Regions from separate parts of the Homo sapiens genome. Here regions 1, 2 and 4 are each linked to region 3. Evidence: promoter capture Hi-C in 16 types of primary human blood cells and fetal thymus (Javierre and others, 2016). All regions are on one chromosome and are shown on one strand. The core of a region is centred on a gene start or on the middle of the fragment in contact, and the rest is flanking DNA. Distances in the headings are between cores, read along the strand shown. Region 1 overlaps GALNT2 (polypeptide N-acetylgalactosaminyltransferase 2). Region 2 overlaps GALNT2 (polypeptide N-acetylgalactosaminyltransferase 2). Region 3 holds the start of ABCB10 (ATP binding cassette subfamily B member 10). Region 4 overlaps GALNT2 (polypeptide N-acetylgalactosaminyltransferase 2).

The links. The method cuts DNA at HindIII sites, captures the fragments that hold promoters and counts their contacts. A CHiCAGO score of 5 or more calls a contact.
Region 1: a contact is called between a fragment that was not itself captured here and the fragment with the promoter of ABCB10 in region 3, in 1 of 17 cell types (megakaryocytes). The highest score is 5.2, in megakaryocytes.
Region 2: a fragment that was not itself captured here is called in contact with the fragment with the promoter of ABCB10 in region 3 in 1 of 17 cell types (erythroblasts); the score reaches 6.9 in erythroblasts.
Region 4: a contact is called between a fragment that was not itself captured here and the fragment with the promoter of ABCB10 in region 3, in 1 of 17 cell types (endothelial precursors). The highest score is 6.0, in endothelial precursors.

Annotation. Positions count from the first base shown.
Region 1 is chr1:230,155,455-230,160,473 of GRCh38, reverse strand. All of the region lies in intron 1 of GALNT2 (polypeptide N-acetylgalactosaminyltransferase 2), which reads right to left. Among named protein-coding and RNA genes, the nearest start is that of GALNT2, 91 kb to the right of the region's middle. The HindIII fragment of the contact is 6,049 bases long and covers 1-4,416 here.
Region 2 is chr1:230,140,540-230,145,906 of GRCh38, reverse strand. All of the region lies in intron 1 of GALNT2 (polypeptide N-acetylgalactosaminyltransferase 2), which reads right to left. Among named protein-coding and RNA genes, the nearest start is that of GALNT2, 76 kb to the right of the region's middle. RefSeq lists an enhancer at 5,019-5,367. The HindIII fragment of the contact is 4,135 bases long and covers 1,017-5,151 here.
Region 3 is chr1:229,555,964-229,561,362 of GRCh38, reverse strand. ABCB10 (ATP binding cassette subfamily B member 10) reads left to right here and starts at 2,656. Exons shown (of 13, transcript NM_012089.3): 1 at 2,656-3,227. The coding sequence starts at 2,711. RefSeq lists an enhancer at 1,877-2,066 and silencers at 2,237-2,936, 2,997-3,446. The HindIII fragment of the contact is 4,467 bases long and covers 1-4,293 here.
Region 4 is chr1:230,199,114-230,203,925 of GRCh38, reverse strand. GALNT2 (polypeptide N-acetylgalactosaminyltransferase 2) reads right to left here. Exons shown (of 16, transcript NM_004481.5): 3 at 636-789. Among named protein-coding and RNA genes, the nearest start is that of GALNT2, 130 kb to the right of the region's middle. RefSeq lists an enhancer at 3,056-3,555. The HindIII fragment of the contact is 2,208 bases long and covers 759-2,966 here.

The DNA.
Region 1 (5,019 bases), core at 143-2,642, 600 kb before region 3:
TCCCACATCTGAAAGTTCTTTTGAGTCTTCTGCTAGGAAGAAGAGATGCAGAGATCATTGTATACAGGGAGGCCCTGGCCCTCAGAGATCAGAGGTGAGTGCAAGGCATGGTGTGTGATCCTGGCCACGTCCAACGCCCTTCCTAAGGCTCACTCTCGCCTACAGAATGGGGATAGTGGTCAACAGTCAGCACAAAGGATTTCTGTAGACACCTGGTACAATGCCTGGCCCATCCTACATGTTTGATAACATCAGGGATTGTTATTAGCACTAGTGGAAAATCTTGATACTAACAGTAGAATCATTTCACTATGACAGAGACAATGGGTTGGAGAAGCACTTCATGGAAGGGAGTGAGGAAGGACTATGAGATGATGGTGGTCATCCTGGAGAAGGATAATCGTCTGATCAGTGAGCAGAAACTAAGGACATTGGCCTAGGAGTGGGGAGGAGGGAAGCACCTGGGTGGTGCGGCTGCTGGATTCAGACGACACCCCACAGAGAGGACTCCCCACTCCCCTTGGCAACTCTTGGCAGTCCCAGAAGGCACAGCAGCTGACTCCTCCAGAGTAGGAACAAAGCTCTAGCAAACAGGGATCCAGCCAAAGGCCAGCCAAGCTGGCACTTCCAACAGGTCCACAATGAAACAGCGATTCAAGGAAGAGGAGGGTCATTGCACCCAAAGCCAGCCAGCCTGCAGGTGGGGGGAGGTAGACAAGGTATCTTCTCCCTCAAGCTGACCGACAGGCACTTGGCCTGCATGAGACATGCAGTCTATCACCTTCACCACGTACAGCCTGCCCAGTGGGAACCACAACGGCTCGGGGTGATCTGGCACCCTCAGGTCACTGCACACTTCACGGTTTCCCCCTACCCCATGTAGGCTCAGTGTGGACCTCATGGCCCAAACTTAGAGCAAAGTGACCGTCCCCTCCCCTCTGAGAAAAGTATGACACATCTGATCCTCAACTAACCGGACTTTAGTTTTAAGCCTCTCTTTCAGAATAGGTAGAAATGAAAAGCAGGGATCCAAACAAAGAAACGAAATAATTGGGTGAATTTCTCCGGTTGACCTAGCCTCACACTCAGGGTCTCTTTCTTCTGATCCTTCTAATAAACTCAGGGGAGTGCTGAACACTTTAAGAGAAAAAGCAGTAGAAGGCTTTGCCTTCGTGTGCAAAGATGAGATATCATGGGCATTAAATGTGATTGCGGAGAAAGGAGCAATCATGGACCAAAACCCTGTCAATTCCCAGGTAAATAAAGCCTCACATCAACAGCAAAGGGTGCAGCCAATAGGGCAGGGGTACAGCGTCCTTTCCCACGGCTGGGTAAACTCAAAGGAATGTTTGCGGATTACAGGTTAAAGTGTACGCTTTTTTGAATGCTCTGTTTCAACCACTACTCTCTCTCTCATCCAAAAGCAGTGTCAGCAACCTCACCAGACACATGCCACCTGCCCCTTCACCTACTTCAAACATCTGATGTAAGAATAATAAATTGCTGCAGAGGCCACTGAAATCCAAAGCGGCATGGGGGCTGGGGCACTGCTCAGACACACTAGGTCCAAGGTTCAATCCTCTTTGTTGCCAGCTATTCACGACCTCGTGTGCAAACGAACAAAGCCTTTCAGATGGCATTCATCCAACTCACTTGCAGGCTGATGGTACAAAATCTTTATCTGTGATGGGAGGTGGCGGGGTGGGTAGGGGGTTGCAACATGCAAGAGCTTCCAGAAGGAGAGAAAGGACCTGAAAGGCTGCTGATTTGCAAGCCTGACTTGGTTTACGTGGAGGGAAATGACAGGAACACTTACAAGACACTTTGCCAGAGCCCCAGGCCTTCTGTCCCATGGGGCATCTCCAGTTCCGTGGCCCTGACCAGCTGCTTCCACTCTTGTGGATACCAGGCTCCCTGGAAGAGTCTCAGGTCAAGAGAGGGAGCCCAGGCTAAAAAGATTTTGCAGGTCATAGTTGCTGTGCATAAAGTTTGGCAAAGTGCCTCAGGAGGCCTCCCTCTTACTTCTATGTTTAGCTTTTTTCCAAAATAAAAGTTAATGTTTTCATGCCTTAGTTTCCCCATCTCTGAGAAAAGACAGTGCATATATAATGTAATCAGGTCTAAGCTCCAGTCTCTCCAGAATCCTACAACCAACTGCTGTGTTCAGGCCTTATCTACAGACTAGAGAACTGCACTAGTTCCTGGCTGGAACCTCTGGCCTCATCTCCCCACGCTACTCATCCCTCACACAACACGAAATGCCCCCTTCATCCTGCCCCCCTGCTACCCGGGCCTCCCGAGGGCTCTCTGTGTTCCACCACGCCCCATGCAAACATTTCCCTTTCAATGCCTCTGGAGTCACAGTTCATCCTACCCATTCAACCTGATCTGTGCTCAGTTCTGGCCTGTTCCATGACGGTTCTCCACATACAACAAGATCCTTCTCACTTCCCTGACTTGGCTTATGATTTTTTTTCTCTGCTTTTAAATTAAAAGTATAATTTACATACAGTAAAATTCACTCTTCTTAGTATCCAGATCTGGGAGCTTTGACATCTGCATATAGTCATGCAACCACCACCACAATCAAGATATAGAACAGTGCCACCATCCTCCAAAACTCCCCTGAGTACATTTGTAGTTAACTCTCTTCTCCAGCCCCTGGCAATCCTTGATCTGCTTTCTCTGTAGTTTTGCCTTTTCCAGAATGTCATATGAATAGAAGTATACAGTATGTAGCCTTTGGACCTGGCTTCTTAATGCACATAATGTACAGAGATCCATCCACATTGTGTGAACCGTGCTTGTCTCCTTTCCACTGCAGGAGGTATCCCGCCACATGCTGCATTCCACCATGTACGCAAACCACAGCTTGTTCATCCATTCCCCAGTCGTGGGACAGTTACGTAGTTTCCAGTTTTGGCAAATATGAATAATGCCATTATGAATCCCAAGAGCACATAAATTTCCATTTCCCTTGGATAATATCTAAGGGTGGGATTACTGCGTTGTATGAGAACATGTGTTTAGCTTTATAAGAAACTGCTCAACTATTTTCCAAAGTGGTTGTACCATTTTGCATTCCCACTGGCAAGGGATAAGAGTTCCAGCTGCTCTATGTCCTTGCCAGTACTTGGTGGCATTTTTGCTTTTTTTCCCCCCAAAGCCACTCCCCTAGGTGTATAGTGACATAATGCAGCTTTCTATAAGTTTGCTATAATGGTGCTTACGACACGCCAGGTATCATGCTCAATGGTTCACACACATCTCAATTAATGCTCACTCAATACTACACAGTAAGTTCCAATGTTTTCTCTGCTTTTAAATGCATCTAAACTGAAGTGGCATCTGAACCAAGGTCAAATGACCACAGTACACGAGGCCTTAAATGAGAGCCCTCCTGGGATGGTCTTATTTACTCCTGCAGGGATTCTCCACAATTCTCTCAGGCTCTGACTCAATGTTACCTCTTTCGTGATAGTTTCTCCAAATCAAAACATAATACAGCCCAGTCTGACCTTGCCTCTTACTGCACTTGATCAGCTCTCTAATGATAGAACCAAAGTATTTTCAAAACAGTTGATGTTTCTTATCTCCCAAACAAGACGGCTAGCTTCCTCAGGCCAGAGGATCTGTCTCCCCAACATTTCATCTTCACATTTTAGGGACTGACTGAAATGAATCAGAGTGTGTAGACAGTGTTCTGACATCAAAGGATGAGATGTGCTATTAAAAAAAACCACCACCAACTTGCTTACCATGGCCCCGAGTTCCACATTGCTTTCTAAAGCCACAACCTGCAGGTTACATTCTGCCCCTGCATTAGAAAGTTAAGCAAATTTAACTGCAGAAAATGTGATAGTTTAAGGGCCAAAAAAATAAATTGATCCGTGACAAACGATAATAAAATATCCAGCATCTAGGAAGCATGTTGAAAATGCTGGCAACTTTATGAAGGAATAATCAATTTTAGGAAACGAACGTTGAAGGTAAAGAAACGCAAAAAGGAGTCTCTTGAGTGAACTCACCAATGAATATATCCTACCAAGGACAAGCTGACTTCCCTAGGATGACATTGCAAACCAGTGTGGAAGCCAGAAACAGGCCTAAAATGACACGGTGAACTTCAGCCATGTAACCAGCCCAATATGTACAATGCAAGGAGTTTTCTCCCCAAGATTCAGGATCCAGGTCTTTGCTGTAAAACACACACACACACACACACACACTCTCTCTCTCTTTCTCTCTCTCTCTCTCTCTCTCCCTCGTCTGCTCCCCCATCCCAAAACCGCACCGTCTCCAGACATCAACCCCAGAAGGTCATCACCACCCAGAGGCCAGGTCTACGTGGTATTCCACTTGTATCTAAAATCAATGACTCTCTCTTCTCTTCCCCACCCTAAAAACACAAAAGCTTTACTCTTCTATCACCCACCCACAGACTGAGCCCCATGACCAGGACACAGTCTCTCCCACCCAGACAGAGCCCACCACACAGGCCCTTAGCACTGATCCCATGGTTTTCCTGATCTGACACAATAGTTCCCTCCCCTCTCCATGTGGCAAAATCACTACAGAATTAGTCCTTTTAAAGCAAGGCTTTTGTCCTCCACTCAGAACTCCTGAGTGAACTGGAGGTTGACGCCGAATGTCTTAGCGACCCTCAGAGTGCCCTCACGACCTGGCCCTCAATCTAATCTCTCTCTTCCAGTCAGGATGGGCCATTTGTGATCTTCTGTGGGGTCCTTTGTGCTATGCACTTGGGAGCCCAGTTTTGGGGTTATAATCACTCTTTCTCTTAGAAATGGTCTTCAAATGACAAAAGCTCCAGTCCTCACAAAACCTAGCTCTGCCCATGGGACTGTCCTGGGAGAGTCCTGCCCTGTCCCTCCCAGCCCCAAAGGAGGAGACCCTGTCCTGATTCAGTCATTCCTGATCTGTTTTGGAAGATCCTGAAAGAAGCTAAAATTTCTTTATCTTGACCCTCTCTGAATAAGGCAGTTTTTAAAACAGCTACAG
Region 2 (5,367 bases), core at 1,835-4,334, 580 kb before region 3:
TTTGAAAGGCACACTTCCCAGAGGGGCTGGGCAGGCAGGCAAGCAAGCCGAAATGCTACCTCTCATTTCTTTACAATTAAGTAATTACAGGGACCTTGTTTCAAACATGGTATTTCCAAGTCCAGATGGAACCACTGCCACCAAGAAGACAGGTGACGTTCTGGGCCTGCCTGACGTCTGGGCTTGCCTGACGTCCTGCTGTGCTGCATCAGGCACCACACGGGGCAAGGCCCCCATTGGCACTATGCCAAGGTGGGTGGCTTTCAACCAACTAGCTGTGGATAAGAATCTCAAAAGGCAAAAGAAAACCGTGTAAATGTCTAAGCCCCGACCTCAGCGGAGGAATCCCCAGAGAACCACCAAGTTGGCTGCATTCTCTAAAAGTCTGTATTTATTACAACCATCCCTACAGTATGTGATAACAACAAAAACAGAGGGAAATGGGGGACTGGCTTCAAACACCAGACACCTAAAAGGGTTCCTTTGGGGGAGCTTCCCTTGGGGGAAGACAGGATTTCCAGGACAAACCCCCTCAGAAGGCCCAGGCCCGACTGCCAGAGTCTGAGGCCTGGCCAGGAAACCCCACAAACTTAGGGGTCAGGGGAGCTGACAGTGCAGATTTCTGAGACGCTCACTGAGAAATTCAGATTCGGCCAGTCTGCACTGGAACCTGCCTGCTAACAAGCAACACAGGGGGCGATCTGAGAATGGGGTTGGGGAGGGGGTGCCAAGGACAGTCTTGGTACTGAGGCAGGAGGGGCCCACAGGCACATGGGTCGCTCTAAGTGTAACGGGATGAGTGAGAGCCTGCAGATGCTGCAGCAGAAAACAGATGACGCAGCTCTGGAGTGGCCATCGGGAGACCCTTGGGATGCTCCGCCGGGCCTCTCACCTTGCTTGGTTTGTAGGTTACCAAGCAAGAGAGGAGCCTGACATCACTACACATCTCACCTCAAGGCCTGCGGGGAGATCACTGAAGGCTGCCAAAGATAAACTCATCCTTCCCACAAGAAGCTTAGAAGCCACTGTATCAGCAACACCATAACCTCTGCCCCAAATCAACCACCTACTCCCAGGCTTTTTAATACTTTATAGTTGCTCTTCAAATCCCTTAGTCTTTAATTAATCCTCACCCCACATAAGAACACTGGCACAAGGTTAGTGGTACTTACTTTGAAGTAAGCATCACAAGAAGAAAAATAACATCCGAGATTTGCTTTAAAACACACCACTACCACCCCTAACTCCCCACCACACACACACAGGCATAAACAGGAAAAGACAAAATAAGCATGGCGAAATCCTGGTGGGTGCTTGGTACCTAAGAGTATACAGCGTCTATTGTTGCAGATGTTGGCACAATAAAACTTTCTTAAGGAAAAAATACTGAAGTCGACATAATTATTACAACCATAATCCTACTTCCAGTAGCGAGGAACACAAACCGCCCTTCACATGCAGGCACCGGCTACTCTGAGCTTTTATCATTTGGTGCTGCGGGTGACGCTGGCTCTGTGATCCTCTGGTTATAGAGAAGCCGAGTGTAGTAGTCTTTCTTGGTTTCAGGCACAAAACAGGACAAATGTTCTGGATACTAACTACTGTCTCCATGTAATTATTAACATTTCCCCTTTCATTCTCAAAAGCACTCAGGTCTGGACACTAAATAGCATGGTCACTCTAGATACAGGGAGAGGGTTGTGAAATAACAGTGTCAACTCTTTGACATGTGGCCCAGAAGGCAGCACGGAGACGTCTCCTACCCCAACCTGCTCTGCCTCCCGATCCAGGTGTGGCCAGGAGGATCTGCATCAAGCCACCTCCCACGACACAGCTGTCAAGCACTCGCAGGTGCTGCTTTTGTAAGTGGAATATGTTCTGGCAAATATAGGAGGTATCGTTCTGAATGTCCTAAGATGTGTCACCTCCATTTAAAAGAGTGCTATTTTGAAAGTGATTAGAATTTAAAAGTTAGCAATTAAAGCCTAATTACAAAGAAAATTCTTGATATCTGACAAACAGCCAAATAACAGGAGGGACCATCATCAGGACAAACAAGATGAGCTGGTGATCGCTGAGCAGGGCGACAGTTAAATTCTGCCTGTCACAGCTGGGGGCATCTGGTTGGCGCATCAATGTCACCCACGTGCGTGTGGCAGATAAAGACAAGCACAATACCCTTTCAGTTATCAGAGCAGCAACAGAGGCCTGGAAGAACTCAATGCTTTAATAAGAGCGTGGGGCTGACACTTTCCCATGTGAAAAGCAACATGCTGCGTAAAGCCAAGAAAAAACCAAGGAAGTGTTCAGGCCGACAGACGACCTCTTTCTCCTTGGCCCCTACTGCACCTGCCATGCCTCTTTACAGGTCAGCAGCAGCATCCACAAGAACTTCAGCAGGACCACCCCGCAGTTCTGCATGGGACTTCAGGACCCCATGAAGGATGGGCAGCGGTGCTGTGTGACTGTGGAACCTGCACACACCACACCTTGTTGCTGCTTCTGCTCTTCTGCTCTCGAATGTCTCCAGTTCTGCATTTCATTCCTAGCAGCTGCTGCAAACAACTGGACATCTCTTACCAAAAACTAACTACACCTTCCAGAGAAGCTCTCAGGCTGCGGATTCCCCTGATTTTTCACACGCAGAAACTGAAAGCCAGAGAGAGTGAGGACCCTGCCCAAAGCCCAGATGCTCACAGGGAATGGGGCTGACAGTGCCCAGTACCCCAATTCCCAGAATCCACTGCAAGGGAAGGACTAGGAGGTTCAGTCTCTGGACTCAGGCTCCAGGAGTACCAGAAGCCTAGAGGAGCCAGCACCATTCTCTTCACCAGCTGCTCAGACATGGACTTGGGCAGCTCTCCAGCCCACTCCCCTAAAAACAGTTTGAACCAGGGATGGGCCCAGCCTGCAGGCTGCTGCTCTGAAGAGCAGCCACAGGAAGGAAATGGCTCTCCTGGAATTGCTGGCCCCCAGGACCCAGGAGAGCTCAAACCTTCTCCCAGGGTACGGGCCAATTCTCACATAGAGAGCATCTGGCTTTAAATGAACAGAAGGAGGATAATTTATAAGCAAGTGTTCAGAAAAACCCAGCCTTCCCACGCAGGCCCCACAGTAAGACAGAGGACAAGAAGTAGCTGACCAGCAAGTATGCAGACAGCATTCAGCAAATGAGCATGCGAACTTAGGTGAACAGAGCAGGCAACGACCAGCTTAGGAAAGTTACACTTTAGACTTCCAGACTCACCAAAGCACAGGCGTATTTTTACCCATAATGTTCTAGACACTTAAATGGTGCTTACTATGCACGTACTAGGTATATTTAATTATATTAACCCAGGTCACCCTCAGAAGAGCCCTAGGAGGTAGGTACTACTTTTTTCCCCATTTTACAAAGGAGGAAACAGAGGCACACAGAGGTTAAGTTACTTGCCCCAGATCAAGAGTGATCAGCTGGCGGGGCTGGATATAAGCCCGGGCCCTTAACGACTTCACCATACAGCCTCTGAGCATGGGGGGCACAGTGAGTCCCCCTACACAGACTACTTGGTCAGTGCCACTCTAAGAGCCACCTGGAGTTCTCGCAGACCCTGTGTGGCCCAAGTGCGGAAGAATGCTGATGTGGAAAGAAGTGGCCGGGTGGATGGAGGCCATCCCTTATGCTTCCTGTGGCCTGGTGGACGGATGCCATCCCTCATGCTTCCTGGCTGGGATGCCACCGTTCTCCTTCCCCACCCTCCCCCCACCTCCACAGGAGGTCCTAATCCCAAAATGCAGCCCAGCCTTTTATTAAGCAGTGTGGTGGCAAGGTCTCGGCCAGGGGTGGTAGCTCAAACCTGTAATCCCAGCACTTTGGGAGGCCAAGGCAGGAAGATCACTTGAGGCCAGGAGTTCAAGACCAGCCTGGGCAACACAGTGAGGCTCTCGTCTCTAACAAAAAAACAAACAAAAAATTTGCCTGGCATGGTGGTAAGCACTTGTCATCCTAGCTACTTGGGAGGCAGAGGCGGGAAAATAAGCCCAGGCGTTTGATGCTGCAGTGAGATATGATTGTGGCACGCACTTCAGCCTGGACAATAGAGCGAGACCCTGTCTCAAAAAAAAAAAAAAAAAAAAAAGGAAAACAAAAGAAAGCGGGGTCTTGAAGAGATATCTGTATACCCATATTTCACAGCAGCACTATTCACAATAGCCATAAGGACCCACGTGTCCATCAATGGGTGACTAGATCAACAAAATGTGGCCTAACCATAAAATGGAATATTCAGCCCTAAATAGGGAGAAAACTCTGACGCGCGCTACAACATGGATGAACCCTGAGGACATTATGCTAAGTGAAATAAGCCAGTCACAAAAGGATAAATACTGGATGATTCCACTAACATGAGGGACCTAGAGGAGTCAAATTCATGAAGACAGAAAGTAGAATGGTGGTTGCCAGGGGGAGGGGAGGGGAGAAGGGAGTCAGTGTTTAATGAGACAGAGTTTCAGTTTTGCAAGATGAAAGAGTTCTGTGGATGCGTGAGGATACTGAGCTGTAAATTTAAGGATGGTTAAGACAGCAAATTTTATGATGTATGTATTTTACCAACTTTTAAGGATTAAAAACAAAGTAAGGAACCCAGCCCGGGTCTGGAGCCAGAGCCTGTACGAGTCCCTTCTGCGCAGTGTTAAGATGGGCAGGATCTCTCCTTTCAGCTGTAATATTAAGACTCCAGGACACACTGTCAACAAATGTTGCCAACAAAATAAATCAGTTCCTACTAATCTCCTGTGGGGTGATCCAATTCACATTCACTCACATTCCCCTTGAAGAAACAGAATGTCTTTAAGCATGGTTACCTACAGATCTATGCATTCTTGTTTCGTTTGTCATTTGTTTCAAAATAGACACACATTTGCAACGAATGCTGGAATTTTTCAATGATGACACAAAAGCAGAGAAAATAAGAATATAGCTATTTCAGAACTAGAAAGGATACGTATCTTCCCTTCCACACTATCACTTGGTAATGGAAAAGAGGTCCTCTGAATACACTGAAATACTGTACAGCTGGGTTGTATAATGGCATATACTACTGGGAGTCACATTATTTTGTGTTTTGCTACATGATTTAGACAATTCATTTACTACTGAGTTATGCACAAGCTTTTCCCTGAGGAAAAGGGGAAGGGAGGGGTGAGGAGAAAGGTTCGAATGATCTCTAAACACTTGACACAGACAGAACTCATTGTGGGAGGGGAGAAGATAAAACCATAATACACGTTTGCAGAGAAGCCTCCAGCTGTGGCAGCGCGTCACTCCAGGAAGCACAGGCTGGAGGAAGGGGGAAGTTTCCCGAGCACCACTGACAGTACTCCCGGTTC
Region 3 (5,399 bases), core at 1,407-3,906:
TATCAGTGGAGCTGATTTCACACTACACCACCAATTCTAGAACTTCTGCACTGATGAGAAACTAGCTTGAATTGTCGTCACCCTGGGGGCAGGAAAGTGGGGGGGCGGGGGTAGGGAGGCGAGACTCCATGTCCTCTGGGTTTAAGAGGTTGGACTTTAGAGGATTACATGCTTACTGCTCATTTCACAGGCACATTTAAGGCCCGACTTAACCCCACACTTTCTATTATCGATCCTTCCCCCACCTCACTCCTTACCTACCAGGACCATATACTTAAGGCACTCTACTAGGGACAAAATTTAAAGATGTGCTAAAAAGTCTCAGTAATCAAATCATGCAAAATTTATTTTAATTGAAAATTTTTAAGTCAGTTTTTATGAGGTGACTTCTGAAAAGAAATGGGATCGTTTTCATTGTGCATCTTGCTACCTCCTCTTTGTGTTTTTTTTGTTTTTATTTTGTTTTGAAAAGATGCAGTCTTGGTGTGTCGCCCAGGCTAGAGTGCATGGAGTGCAGTGACGTGATCTCAGCTCACTGCAACCTCCACCTCCTGGATTCAACCGATTATGCTCCCTCAGCGTCCCAAGTAGCTGAGACTACAGGCATGCACCACCAAGCCCAGCTAATTTTTGTATTTTCAGTAGGGATGGAGTTTCACCATGTTGGCCAGGCTGGTCTCAAACTCCAGACCTGGAGTGATCCGCCCGCCTCGGCCTCCTAGAATGTTGGGATTACAGGTGTGAGCCACCGCCTGGCCGCTACCTCCTCTTTTTTTTTCTTTTCTTTTTTTTTTTTGAGACGGAGTCTTGCTCTGTCTCCCAGGCTGGAGTGCGGTGTGGCACCATCTCAGCTCACTGCAACCTCCGCCTCCCGGGTTCAAGCAATTCTCCTGCCTCAGCCTCCTGCGTAGCTGGGATTACAGGCACGCTCCACCACACCTGGCTAATTTTTGTATTTTTAGTAGGGACGGGGTTTCACCACGTCGGTCAGGCTGGTCTCGAACTCCTGACCTCGTGATTCGCCCGCCTCAGCCTCCCAAAATGTTGGGATTACAGGTGTGAGCCACCGCGCCCGGCCGCTACCTCCTTTTTGAGCCCAACTAAAGAAACATCAAGGATTGATACCCTCCCAGTTGAAGAGAAAGTGACAACTTTAACCCAAATCTCACCTTCCTCTTACTTTCTCTTTCCCATTTTCCAGCTGCCAAACTAAGGGCAGCTGCTGTCAGTTTTTGTAAATAAAGTTTCCAGGGCTGGGATTAGAGCGAGAGAAGAGAGGCAGGATTGTGAAAGGTCAGGAGTGGATACTCAATCAAAATTTTTTATATTTTGTTCATTACGGATTTTTTAAATTAATTTTGATTTTTAAAAATATTGCACTAAAATGTTTATGTTGATTATTGAGGTTTTTTTATTTTGTGAACCCATAAAATTTGCAACTGACAGTACCCTGTCCAGGTCCAGTAAAAATACCTAGGAGTCTACAAAAATCTACCCACGACTCACTGGACCTCAGGTACATATCCCCCCCCGCCCCCATGAAGTCTCCATAAAGTGTCCCAGTGAGTTTTAATGTTCTCTCCTGTCTTTCCATGCACGTGTATTAAGATGCATTGCCTTCTGATTAGTGTTTTCCACTTCGAACAGCGGGAATGCCTCGACCACGCCTGTCTTCAAATTTCTGCTCTAGTTAAGAAACGATCTCAGGCCGGGCACGGTGGCTCACGCCTGCAATCCCAGCACTTTGGGAGGCTGACGCGGGCGGATCACCTGAGGTCAGGAGTTCGAAAAGAGCCTGACCAACATGGTAAAACCCCGTCTCTACTAAAAATACAAAATCAGCCGGGTGTGGTGGCGTATGCCTGTAATCCCAGCTACTTGGGAGGCTGAGAAGGGAGAATCACTTGAACCTGGGAGGCAGAGGTTGCAGTGAGCCGAGATCGTCTCAAGAAAAAAAAAAAAAAGAAAAAAAAGAAACGATCTCTTCCCTTCTCAAAGTTATATACATTTCACTATTCGCCAACCACCTCCTCCACGCCGTCCAGAGCTGAGCTGACACGCAGCGAAGTCCTCTCAGTGGTCCCTCCGCACCTCAGCCCTGTGCTTGGCAGCGAGACGAGTGACAGGGCCGCCCCAGCATGGGTCTCCCGGGCCGCGGACCCGCCCCACGCCGTATCCAGCACGCTGTCCTCCCGCCCCATCTTTGTGCCGGCCATCGTGTGGTCGCGTCTGCGCGCTCCGCCCGGTCTGCCGGCGTGAGAAAGAGCTCGTGTCGTTCCCAAGTTCAGACCAGAGGGGACGGCGAAGCGCGAAAAAGTTCCCTGCGCCCAGTACGCAGGCGCAGCCGTGCTCCTGGGCTTCCCGGGCCTCGTCCCAGCTGGCGCGCCCGGCGCTCCTCCGCCAGCGGGCAGTTGGGGGCGCTGCAGGGAGGGCACCCGAGCGGGTTGGGGGCGCTCGGAAGGGTGGCTTGCAAGGTCCGGGTAGCTGCAGTCCCCGGAGTGGGGCGGAGAGGCGCGGCACCGCGCGGACGAGGATGGGGCGGGGGCGGGCGCAGCCCGAGGGTGCAGGCACGATAAGGCGGGTGACAGCCAGCGGGGAGGGGCGGGCGCCACCGCGTCCACGCCCTTTGCTCGGGGCCGGGCCGGGAGGGTCCTCGGGCTTTGCGCGCGCCTGGCCGGCGGGCTGAGGCGTACGGGTCGCACGCAGCGCCATGCGAGGCCCCCCTGCCTGGCCGCTGCGGCTGCTCGAGCCACCGAGCCCTGCCGAGCCAGGTCGGCTCCTGCCGGTAGCCTGCGTGTGGGCCGCGGCCAGCCGCGTTCCCGGGTCCCTATCGCCGTTCACTGGCCTGAGGCCGGCGCGGCTATGGGGCGCGGGGCCCGCGCTGCTCTGGGGCGTTGGAGCCGCGCGCCGCTGGAGGAGCGGCTGCCGGGGCGGGGGTCCGGGCGCCTCGCGGGGCGTCCTGGGCCTCGCGCGGCTCCTGGGGCTGTGGGCTCGCGGCCCCGGCAGCTGCAGGTGCGGGGCTTTTGCCGGGCCAGGCGCTCCTCGGCTCCCGCGCGCCCGGTTCCCGGGCGGTCCCGCAGCCGCTGCCTGGGCAGGGGACGAGGCCTGGCGGCGCGGGCCGGCGGCGCCTCCCGGGGACAAGGGGCGGCTGCGCCCCGCAGCGGCCGGACTCCCGGAGGCCCGGAAGCTCCTGGGGCTGGCGTACCCTGAGCGCCGGAGGCTGGCAGGTAGGGTCCTCCCCGGCCACTTCCCTCCGCCGGGCCTCTCCTTCTCCACACGCGGGGTCCCGGGGCGCCGAGAGGGACACGGCCGGGCCGCAGAGCGCGTGTCACCGCCGCCTCTCCTGGGCCACTCCTAACCCCGGAGGAGGGAGGGGATCGCTCACCTCAGAGTAGCGTTGTCAAGATTTCGCCTTAGCTGGGGACTCGTTTGCAGATTTTACACTTGTTTTCTTGTTGACACACGTTATATATGTCATTATTGGAATCTTTGGGTCTGTTCCACCACCAACTTAGTGGGAGCATCTGTTTTGGCTTAGGCAGCAAAATGAGCTGGAGGTTTTTCCTTGGAAAAAAAAATTCTAGCCAAAAATATGCCTATTTTGTTATTAGGCGTTTATACTTTTTTTTTTTAACCAAAAACACATTATTTGCTTCAAGCGAGTCTGTCAAGCAGTCACCAATGCTTTCACAGCGGAAAGCAAAACTTTCAGACTTGTCTCTTGTGCAGGAAGTTACAGCACTGTGTTCAACAGGCCACACCAGTGATCTGTTCAGTAATTGAGTAACTTTTTTAAAAGAAGCCAAAATGAATGTTTTTAGAAACAAAATTTAAATAGGACAGTTTTCTATAGCTCCTCATTTTTTAGCCATAATTGGAGGAGTGTTTAGATGCAAGGGCCTTGTAAGATCTAAAATTTTTTCGATTTCTCTAAATCTTCACTCCTTCTATAAACATCTGTTGAGCCCTCATTCTGGACTGGGCCCTGGGTTTACAGTGGCATGCACAAGGAAACATGGTCCTCACTTCTGCTGGGGCTTCTAGGTTAGTGGGGAGAAGCATCTATGAAATATTCGTATGTATAGAGGTAAACCTGCACCTGTGGGCTGTGGAAGGGGGCCTGTGGGGCCTGTGAGGTTGTCAGGTGCAACACCAGAAAAGCATTCTTTGCTGCAAATCCATTGCTTTAGAAAGGACCCTCCTGGGTAGTGATTTGGGATTTAGAGTAGGTTTGCACAGTGGAGGAGAGCAGTTAGGGTGGCGACTTTTCATCTACCAGTTGCTATGAAAGCTTAGGGGGCTGTTGATATCACTCGGGTGTAAAGAGAATTATTTCATTGTTCAGTTGGTTGAGTGTAGATTTTGTTGTAAAATATCTTTTTCTCTTTCCTCTTTTTAAAAACATTGGAGACTAGGAGCTCTCACTGGACTTTGAGCTGCTTGAGACGGGGACTGTGCGATTCATCTTTCTGTCTCTAGTTCTTAGCATGTGCACGGCACAGAGCAGGCGCTCAGAGTGCCTTCAGTGAAGGAATAAATGACCATACCACCAGGCACAGAGTGAGGCCTTTAGAAACCCTGAGCATCATCGGGTGCGCCCACCACTTCTGTATGTGACTCAAAGTAAGTGTAAGGAAATCCAGTTCTGTTTTGTTTCTGAAATACTAGATGTCAGGAAGGGTGTTTAGGTGTCAGGCTTTGGTGGCCTACACGTGCCCAGTCCTCTTATGCCATGACCATTGTTCCTGTGACCCCTCACTCTGTCCCCAGATATCCTGCCATGCTAGTATGTTTTGGTGACAGCCTTAAACAAGACGAGACTGCCTCCTTTTTTCTTTCTTCTTTTGTTTTTCTGGGATAGGGGTCTCACTGTGTTGCTGAGACTTGTGTTGAACTCCTCAGCTCAAGCAGCTCTGCCTCTACCTCCTGAGTAGTTGGGACTACAGGCATGTGCCACCACACCCAGCTCGTACCTTTTTTTTTTTTTTTTGAGATGGAGTTTTGCTCTTGTTGCCCAGGCTGGAGTGCAATGGCGTGATCTCACCTCACCGCAACCTCCGCCTCCCGGGTTCAAGCGATCTTCCTGCCTCAGCCTCCCAAGTAGCTGGGATTACAGGCATGTGCCATCATACCCGGCTAATTTTGTATTTTTGGAGACAGAGTTTCTCCATGTTGGTCAGGGTGGTCTCGAACTCCCGACCTCGGGTGATCTGCCCACCTTGGCCTTCCAAAGGTGCTGGGATTACAGGTGTGAGCCACTGCACCCGGCCTTCTTTTTATTTTAAGAACAGAATATATTTTGTTCCACCACATTGAGAAATTATGAATATATAATTTGAAGAAACAAGCCTAGGGTTGGCACACTATTTTTTTTTTTTTTTTTGCTTTTCAAACAGATA
Region 4 (4,812 bases), core at 613-3,112, 640 kb before region 3:
TTGAGCCCAAGAGTTTGAGGTTACAGTGAGCTATGATCGCACCACTGCATTCCAACCTGGGTGATAGAGGGAGACCCTATCTCTAAAAATAGAAAGAAAGATGTGGACAAGAGCCCTTCCTTTAGTACAGGGTGTGGAGATGTGGCACCTGTCCCTCCTGTGTTTCTGCTCAATTTAACATCTATTGTGCTGGGTAGTTCATTTCTCCTTTCTAATCTTTAGAACATTTCCAATATAAGCTGTCACAATAAGCAGGAATTTAGATTTTCTTCCTCCAAGGTTGGGAACAATGACAAATTTTGCATTTTTGTGAATGGATCATAAAAATAACAAGTGATCACTAAATATAAAGCCAGTCACACAACTCTCTTTCTGACTTCCACGCTCTGGCCAGAAACCCACAGCCTCTGCACACTGCCACAGGGCACCTAAAGACTAGAGCTGAATCTAGAACCATCCTTCCACTGCCTATGGATGAAGTTCCATTGCCATATACCTCAGGATTTTTCCTAGTTTTACAACACACATTCAATTTCCCAGAGTAATGGAGAAGTTCTAGTGTCACAGGTGAAAGCGACGTACTGGTTTGTGTGAAAGCAAATGAAGCTGCAGCAGGTGCTTAGTGGGGTACTTACTGGTCATGCCGGGTGTCAGGGATGGCTCTGTCCATTCGAAGCTTATCACTCTCCACCTGGTTGAACTTGTTGCGGGCGTAAGGGTCCTGCCCGGAGCGGACCATCGTCCCTCCAACATAAGCTTCCTGGTTAAAGTCTGGCCACCGTACTTTCCCTAAAAAGAGCAGAGCAGAGGGTAGGGATGAGGGAAAATGTGACCAAGTGCTCATCACAGAGACTGCAGTAAGTGTTAACTCCAGAAATCACATCCATGGCTTCTTTATATAGTGGCCATTTTAAACAACAAACTAGCTGAAAACAGCACAAGCAAGCATCATCCTGTCTACAACCCAGAGAATAGGAAACTGCAGGTTTGCCATTTACAGCATGAAAGTTAAAGGCCTGGTGTACAGGCATCTGTCCAGTGAACAAAGTAAGATCAAAGTACCTGTAACTGTGGCATCATTCATGTTTTCTATAAAAGGAGATGTTCTCAGCTTGTCCCACCTTTCCAGGGATTATAATGTTGACATTATCTCAGGTAGGGTGAAGAAGATCATGTATAAACTGCACATAAGGTATTCCATCATGTAACATCAGGTAACACAAAAATAAATGTTTATACAAAAAATAACCCCTAAAGAACAGGATATCAAAATACCCTTTGGTGAGACCTTGTCAAGGGGTCCTTTTTGCAGCTGTTAGTATGCCTGACCCCACGGGGAGAAAGTGAAGGATGTGGCTCTCAGAGGTGTCCTCATATGCACAGCAGGGGCCTGGCCATTCCTAACACACACATCATACCTGTTCTCTTCCTGGAAGAAAGGAAGCCAAGGCAGCCTGCCTGTCCCCTGGCATTGGCCTGAACCCTAGAATGCCAGGCACAAGGTTCTCCAAGAACACACCACTGCACTGAGGAGCTCTACCCTAGGGCAGAGGCAGTGTTGGCGACCAAGGAGCATTGAGAGGAGAGCACTGCTAGGCGAGTGAAGTCAGGATGAGCCCAGGTGTAATAAAGGCAGAGCCAGAGAAATGCACAAAGGCAGGATGCTCAAACAGCAGAAGACAGGTGGAAGGAGAGGCAGACTTGAAGCAAGGAGAACATTTATGATTCTGTGTCAACCTGGGTTTCAATCAAGCACCATTCGCCATTTGCCACCTATATGATCTCGGATACGCTATTCATTGTTTGAAATTAAGTTTCCTACAAAATAAGTAAATAGAATAACAAAAGGTTCTTCACGAGGACTTAATGGCCTACAATGTTCCACTTCATAGATATGACAAACTAAAAAATAATAATAAACACCACCAACAACCCTGCTCACATGAAACTCATACAATTTCCAGTGGTTGGAACTGCCATGAAGAAACATAAGGCTGTTATGGGGGCAGGGAGTACAGGGTTCCTGTTCTTTATGGGGTGGTCTGGTAAGGCCTAGCAAGATGATTTTGAGCAGATAACTGAACAAAGGCAGGGTGTGGGCATGCAACTCTCCGGGAGAATAGGGCACCGCAGTGCAAAGGTCCTAGTGTCGACATGAGCATGCCCATTCAGGAACCAGCCAGGAGGCCAGTGTGACTAAGGAGCAAGCAAGAGCCTGGCCGTCAGAGCCAAGGTTGGAGAGGGGAAGGCAGGGCTGCCGGCAGCTACACGAAACAGGGCAGCAAGGGGGAGACAGCTCTTTTGCAGCGTGTCAACCCTTGGGTCGTGCAGTTGACCTTGAAAACACGGTATGATAATAGCATGTGTACCTCCATATCTACTTTCCCAACAGAAATCCCTCATTACACAATTGAAGGGCCATTGTGTTCCTTTCTCTATTTCAGAGATGAGGAAACTGAGAATCAGTTACATGTAATTTGTTCAAGACAGAAGAGTAAATTTTCTATCTAAAAGCTCATCTGCTTCTTGTTGCAATGGTCCTGCGAGGTCAGAACCCCCATCTCATCACAGCTGGTTGCCGTGGAAATGATGCTTGGGGGGTGTCACAGAAGTCTGGCCTCTCAAATCGAAAATCAGTTCCAAAACCCACGAGCCTGGCTACAGCGATGATACCACGGCCCCAATAAACAGCTGCCTGTGGGAGCCGGCCAAGGTGTCAGCATCTTCTTATGCCGCAAATAAAATGTTTCCAAAACATGTTACTGGAAACATGTTTTCCGTGCAAAGACCATCCTAAAAATACTTACTGATCCTCCACTCTCTCCTCATCTTCCTGCCTTCACCCTCATATATTTTCAAGGATGAGAAGAAAAATAACACCTACCTGCGCTCAAGAGCGAGCAGCTTCTACTCCTCACCAGTGAGTTTATCCTTTCACGGACTAATACAAAAGAGGCTTTGAAGCTTTTGTTAAAATCTAAACCAGCAGCACCTACGGCAGAATTCCAATGAGCTGGTTCTAACAAACGTATTTAATGTCCTGAATACCCTGCACCACGGAACTTTGAACTATGGAATAAAGAACCATGACGGAGTCCCATGCGCAGCCAGAGAAGAGACCACCACCCGAGAGAGGTTTCATCCTACCATGTAACTCTGCTTACAGCCTACTTGCTTCTCACCGGCGTGCTGGGGACAGCAAAGTCTGAGGACTCTGGTTGGTGTGGGCCTGTGTGCAAGGAGAGCAGTGGCCATGGGATAAGGCCTCTGCACAGCTCTAGAAGCTTCAATCCCATTTCCACCCATACATCTCTTTGTGCTCTCACACCCCCACAGCCCTTCTGGAATAAGACCATCACAGCACAGGGTTTGCAAGATGTCTAATGCCAGTCATTCACAGGGCAGCTCAGACCCTGGCCTGCGGTGCATACTAGGTGACTCCACATGAGGTGTCATGCTAGATCCTGCAGGGAGAATAAGCACACACAGGCCCGTGACCCATGCTGTGGACTTCATGTTCTAGGAGGTAGAGGGAGACAGACAAGAATCAAATGACTGTACTAGGCCGGGCGCACTGGCTCACGCCTGTAATCCCAGCACTTTGGGGAGGCCGAGGCAGGTGGATCACGAGGCCAGGCGTTCGAGACCAGCCTGGCCAACATGGTGAAACCCCATCTCTACTAAAAATACAAAAAATTAGCCAGACGTGGTGGCAGGCGCCTGTAATCCCAGCTACTCAGGAGGCTGAGGCAGGAGAATCGTTTGAACCTGGGAGGCGGAGGTTGCAGTGAGCCGAGATTGCACCACTGCACTCCAGCCTGGGCAACAGTGCAAGACTCCATCTCAAAAAAAAAAAAAAAAAAGAAAAAAAAGAATTAAATGACCATACTAATAAATGTATCAATAAAAACTGAGCTAAGTGCTCTGAGGGTGAAGAATGAAGCATCTAATGGAGCAATCTTATCTAGACTGGGAAACCAGGGGCGGCTTCCCTGCAGAAAGAATATCTGAACTGAGATTTGAATCATGAGTAAAAATGAACTTGGAGAAGCCCTTGAAACTTCACAAAAATATCATCTTTCTTCAGCACCCAAAGACTACATGAGCCTACTGAGCGGTACCCTGCCCTGCCGCCTCCTTTGACACAGGAGCGTCTTCAACAGGACCCTGGTGTGGGCCCTGCCTTGTCTTGTGGCAATCTCCCTGAGACACACAGCTGTTTTACTAGAGACAGACTATCAACAGTATTTCTTTCATAAAAGCTTAGCAGTACTGGAATACTACAGGGGCTTTCAAGTTTGCTTGACAATGACACACTTTTAACACTGTGACCCAGGTGTCACAATGCAAACATACACACCCAACTGATACAAAAGTCTCACAATACCAAACTTACCCTCACTATATGCGAGGAACAGATCTATTCTATTTTTGTTTTAGGTATCTCTCGAAACTGGCTTCACCACCTAATGATGGGTCACAACCCATAATTTGGAAAACGCTAAGCTAAAGAACCATTACTAAAATTGGTTATTTCTGTACTATATAGAATTGCTAGGTTTGAAGCTACCCCCAGAGGCAAAGGCAGGAAAATCCATGGAGAACAAGGTTTGCAGAGGGCACACGCGTCCCAGCCCAACCCCACGCAAACAGGGACATGGCGAGAGGTACACAGAGTAGGGTATGAGTCAGAGGTTAGAGAGAAACAGCCACAAAACAACCAACAAAACGTCTGAATATATTGCCTTCCTAAAAATATGACATGTCATCCATACATCATCTTGTGCTTTTATCATCTTTTTAAAAATCTTT